2 separate regions of the Homo sapiens genome follow, and region 2 is linked to region 1. The links are contacts of gene promoters, found by promoter capture Hi-C in human tissues and cell types (Jung and others, 2019). All regions are on one chromosome and are shown on one strand. Each heading gives the region's core, a stretch centred on a gene start or on the middle of the fragment in contact. The rest is flanking DNA. Distances are from core to core; before and after follow the strand shown.

Region 1 (2,839 bases), core at 99-2,598:
TGATGATAGCAATATACTAAGAGTTACTATGTACTGACTAATTACATGCATTGTGCCTGCACTGTGCCAAACATTTTATAGTCAATTATCTCATTTTGACTTTATCACAACCTTCTGAGGTAGGCAGTGTTAATCTCATCTTACAGATGAAGAAACTGGAGCTCAGAGAGGTTCCGTAATGTGCCGAAAATCACACAGGTAGTAAATGATAGGGCTAGGAGTCAAAACCTGGTCTGACTACTCCAAAGTCTGGTGTTCTTGACCACCAACTATGCCAGATGTCTGATCTTGGGCAAGTCACTCCTCTTTTTTTTAGGTCTGTAAAATGAAAGGGTTATACCAGATGATATCTGCAGACCCTGCCACATCTGATATTTTGTCGTCTATTCTGATCCCCGCTCAGATCCAACTGATGGGAACTGCCTCAATGAGGGGATAGGGAAGTGATAATAATTCAACGCTTTCATCTTCATAGATAGGGTTTCTTTTTTCAGGAGAGGAGGAAGAGATCGAAATATTCACACTCCTATCTGTATCCTGCGACTGCTCCCTCCAGATAGCCACTCCAGGACTGCCCCTGCCTGAATCCCGTCTCGCTCAGCCCTCACAGGCAGGGGCCTGATGTCCGCGGAAGGCGCTCCCGAAACGGCCTAAGACTTACGGGGGGAAGGGGACGGGCAGGGAACGGGCAGAAGTCCCTCGGCTGGCCCAGGGGCCCGCCGCAGGCAGCCTGGGAGGGGGACTGCGGTTGCCCCACTCGCCAATCCTGCTTTCCTGCGGCTGAGCTCCAGCCTCCCACCCCTCAAGCCAGTCACTTAACCTCTCCGCTCCTGTTCCCCCGTCTATAAACTGGGATCGGAATTTCTGCTTCAGGGGGCTGCAGCGATTAAGTGAGATAAATATTTGGAAAGTATCTGGTCCGCTCAATACCGCGCTCATCTTCGCGCAGCGGGGGAAAGCCAGAGGGCTAGAAAGCCCCCAACCCGCGGCAGGAGACGGGCGGACACTGGTCCGGGCCAAAGAGCCCAGAGTTCAGCCGCTAGGACCCCGCAGGCGCCCACTGCGCGGGGCTGATCGAGCGCGCCGAGGGCTCCGGGGCCGAGGCCGAATCACCTCAGCCGCCGCTTCCCGCCGGCGGGCGTCTCCGGGCCCCAGCCGAAGCTTTCCGGGCTCCTCACCTCTGACTCCCGCCGCTGGCTTCGGAACGCTTCGCGGCCCTTGGGCGCCGCCTGCTTCCCTTTGCCGCCGCCGTTGCCATTGCCATTTGCGGGCGGGCCCCCGGTCCCAGGCGCGGCGGGGTCCTCCATGCTGCTGGTCAGCGGCTCCCCTCAGGGTTCAGCTCGCTTTGCCGGAGGCGACCCTACCGCCGCGCGCCGGGAGCCAGGCCCCGCCCCCTCCACCTCTATTGGTTACGGCAGCTCGCCGCAACCCCGCCCCGCGAGGCGATTGGCTGCTCGACCGGCCGGAGCGGGACTCGAGGAGGTGGGGGCTCAATGAAGAGATTTTTGAGGGGATCTTTTTAGTCCTGCGGCATTGCTGGCGGACGGAGACTCCTAGGTTAGCTACAGGCTCCACACCTCGCGAAAGCTGGGCCTTGAGATCAGGCGGGTTATCTCTGTGCTCCTCACTCGGTGTCTCTCAGCTCTCACCCCCGTCCCTGTAGCGACCTTTTCCGGAGCTCTAGTCTCCGCCTACTGCTCCACAGCAGTCTCCGTTTCCCTGTTACCACCGACCCGGCCCCCCATATCCCGGCTCCTGCACACGTCCCATATCCCGCTTAGTCTCAGGGGAGGGATGGCACCGCCAGGTGGCCAGGGACATCGCCCGAAACGAGGGACTCGCTGTCTCTGGAAGCTGAGAATTCTCAGCGTTTTTCTGAAGAGAACGCATCTCGCCCGGAGCTAGGGCTTGGCTGGGAGACTGGAGGTCTAAGGGTGGGATGGGGGAGTTTTTCCATCACTGAAATTGGTGGTGCCCTCGAGGGCTGCTCCTGTCATCTGCCCTTCTCTGCTGTAGGGGGCCTCTTCCTCATGGTGTGTAAATGTTGAGGGTAGAGCAAGCCCCCACCCTCACCTGCTCGCCAGTCCTTTCTTTCCTTCCTCTCTCTTAGATGCTTCCTAAGGGCTCATTGTTACTGGGGGCAAAAGAGGCTGTTTGATCTGCCCTCTCCTGAATTTAAAAAGTAGCTTGTAGTAAATATTTAGACAGTCTGGCTTGGTAATAGAAGCCCCAAAGACGTAGGCTCAGGGGAACAGGTGGGACCAAATCGCTGTCCCCAGCCTGGTTGCTTTAGGAAGGGTCTGGGGGATTGTTGAACTGAGCTTGGTGCCAGGCACTGCAGTAAGCGCTTTCCAAATATCACATCATACCTCTCCCCGACAGGGTGTTTTTACGAATCCAATGTTACTGATGAAGAAACCGGCACTTGCAGATTCCTCCCTGCGGTTTCCAAGGTATCATATTCTATCTTGTCTCAGGGTCTTGCCTATGCTGTTCTCTGGAGGAGACTGTCTTCTGTTCTCCTGGTTGATTCCTTTTCTCTCATAAAGATTCTAGTTAGTTGTCACCTCCTCCTCCTCCACAAAGCTTTCCTTTTAGCCCTCAACTCATTCAGGTTGTGTTGGTGTCAAACCAGTTCTGCCTAGATCCAAAATCCTAACATTTTCCACGATATACCCAAAGCAAAGGGCCTAGAGGAATTACTCCACCTTCCCATACCTTAGGGACAACCCTGTCCCTTTCTTAACATCTCTCTCTCTCTCTCACTTTTCCCTTTGCCAGTTCATAGGCGACAGAACAAGGCAAGTTTGAGAGCACTCTTTGGAGCTTTTTGGGTTTT
Region 2 (2,839 bases), core at 201-2,700, 190 kb before region 1:
AGTAGTGCAACTACTGTATGTCGAAGGCAACATTGAATGAGTTAGCTACCATGTGCCAAGTATTTAATATGAATTTTCCTTATATCTTCACAAATCAATAATAAAGGCATTATTGTCCCTGTCTTAAAATTAAGGCAATTCAGCCAGGGATGGTGGCTCATGCCTGTAATCCCAGCACTGTGGCAGGCCAAGGTGGGAGGATCACTTGAAGCCAGGTGTTTGAGACCAGCCTGGCCAACACAGTAAGACCCTGTCTCTAAAACAAAAATTAAAACATGGGGCTGGGTGTGGTGGCTCATGCTTGTAATCCCAGCACTTTGGGAGGCCAAGGCGGGTGGATCACAAGGTCGGAAAATCAAGACCATCCTGGCTAACATGGTGAAACCCCATCTCTACTAAAAATACCAAAAAATTAGCCAGGTGTGGTGGCAGGCACCCGACGTCCCAGCTACTCGGGAGGCTGAGGCAGGAGAATGGCGTGAACCCGGGAGGCAGAGCTTGCAGTGAGCTGAGATCGCACCACTGCACTCCAGCCTGGGCAACAGAGCGAGACTCCGTCTCAAAAAAAAAAAAAAAAAAAAAAAATTAAAACATTAGCCGGGCATGGTGGCACATGCCTGCAGTCCCAGCTACTCAGGAGGCTAACACAGGAAGACTGCCCGAGCCCAGGAGTTTAAGGCAACAGTGAGCCATGACTGAGCCACTGCACTCCAGTTGGGGAGACAGAAAGAGACTGTTTCTAAAAAACTAATAAATTTAAAAATAAATAAATAAATAAAATTAAGATGATTCAGACTCAGAAAAGTTAAATAACATGCTCAAGGTTGCAAACTTAGTAAGTGACATTAACAGAATTTAAGCCCAGAGCTCCTATAGTGGGTTGGACTGTGGCTCCCAAAAAGATATGTTCACATGCTTACCATTGGCACCTGTGAATACTACCTCACTTGAAGAAAGCGTCCTTAGAGATGTAACTAAGGATCTTGAGATCATCCTGAAATATCTAGGTGGGTTCTAAATCCAGTGACAAGTGTCCTTTTAAGGGTGAAGCAGATAGAGATTACACGGAGAGGAGACAATGAGACCATGGAGGCAGAAACTGGAGTGATGTAGCCACAAGTCAAGGAATGCCACCAAAGGCTGGAAGAGACAAAGAACAGATTCTCCCCCAGAGTCTCCTGAGGGAGCGCCACCCTGTGAACACCTTGATTCCAGACTCCTAGCCTCCAGAACTGTGAGAGAATACATTTCTGTTTCTTGAAACCACTAAGTTTGTGGTTTTATGGCAGCCCCAGGAAACGAATGCAGTCCACAAACTCTCTCTCTCCAGCATTCCCTATTGCCTTCCCAAGGTTGAAGGATCTAGGGATATGTAAACTAAAATAGGGACGACTCGGACAATAAGGAAAATGAAAACTATACTTGCTTTTGCAAGCCCTAGAGAACAGAGTAAAATCAGTAGGTAAAAATTTTAGGGATACCACTTGGGAGACTGAGGCAGGAGGATCCCTTCAGCACAGGAGTCTGAGAGCAGCCTGGGCAACACAGAGACGTTGTCTCCAAAAAATAATAATAATAATAAAAAGGCTCAGGGAGAAATTTCAGTTGGGAAAACTTTCCAACCATCCAAATATCTTAAAGACCAACCAGACTTTTGGTAGGTGGTTACGTTTCCTATCACTGGATGTGTTCAAGAAGAGACTGAAGACTTTTAACTTTGGAGAGCAGAGCTTTCTTAGATGATTTAGAATCTCTTCCCATCCTGAGTTCCTAAAATTATAAAATGTTAGATAGTACCACAAAAGCCTAAGTAAAGTAAAATATTACAAATGAGTTTCGCCAGGTTTCTACAATCATTCAAATAAATACTGCTTGCTATGTCTCAGGCACTGTGCTTGGTAATGAACACCAACACAGTATCTACTCTCACGAAGCTTACAATCTGGTGGAACAGACATATATCAAGCAATATGCAAACAAATGTAAAATTATATATATATGACCACCTATGATGAAGGAAAAACGCAAAAAAGAGGGAGACCAGGTAAAACTTCCCTAAGGAAATGATGTTTGAGCAGAGACCTGATGGATTTAGTCATCCTTTGGTATCTGGGGGTGAATCAAAATCCACAGATGCTCATGTCCCTTTCAGCTGGGCCTCCATATCCACAGGTTCTGTATTCTCGGATGGAAAATACCATACCATCTGGCTACAAAATGGATTTCTTCAGAATGAAAGCAATCATTGTGGTGGATTCTCAAGTGAGAATTAGCTCTTGCTTTCATACCTTTCAGATACAGAAGTTTAAGAGAGAAAAAGTTTGCACTTTTTATTCTCAGATTCTCTACCTCCCGCCATGTCTGGAAGATACTGATTTAAGAATCTTGTGAAGCATACATTCTAAAAGTTCTTCTTTTGGAAAAGATCTTAATCTTTCAAAGTAGAAGGGAAGAGAATAAACAAGTCGGACTTTGTCATCGTCACCTCTACAGGCTTTACTATACTTAAGAGAAAAAAATGACATTAGTTTAGATACTAAATGCAGTCACTAAGAAATGATTTACCCTAGATTTGCTTTCCATTTTGTATAAAAAATAAAAACAAAAACAAATCAGTTACCAGAGGGATTAAAAACAGAATTAAATGAGTAGGCAGGAAAATTGGGTTACACTACTAGCTCTAAATAGGATTCTACCATATAAATTTTTTAAGAAAGATACCTTTGAGAAAGTTCCAGTTATTCTTTACACAGAATTAGAATTATATATATCACATATTTCACTGAGTGTATGAGTTGGATTACACAGCATTTTGAATATTTATATTTTATCTATACAA

Evidence for each region. The method cuts DNA at HindIII sites, captures the fragments that hold promoters and counts their contacts. A contact is called where the count stands out against the background at its distance.
Region 2: a contact is called between a fragment that was not itself captured here and the fragment with the promoter of STRIP2 in region 1, in 2 of the 25 tissues and cell types used here (IMR-90 fibroblasts and thymus).

Annotation. Positions count from the first base shown.
Region 1 is chr7:129,432,941-129,435,779 of GRCh38, reverse strand. It overlaps STRIP2 (striatin interacting protein 2), which reads right to left and starts at 1,348. Exons shown (of 21, transcript NM_020704.3): 1 at 1,179-1,348. The coding sequence starts at 1,307. RefSeq lists a silencer at 989-1,468. The HindIII fragment of the contact is 3,182 bases long and covers 250-2,839 here.
Region 2 is chr7:129,623,422-129,626,260 of GRCh38, reverse strand. The region is part of intron 1 of NRF1 (nuclear respiratory factor 1); the gene reads right to left. Among named protein-coding and RNA genes, the nearest start is that of NRF1, 13 kb to the right of the region's middle. The HindIII fragment of the contact is 7,216 bases long and covers 1-2,839 here.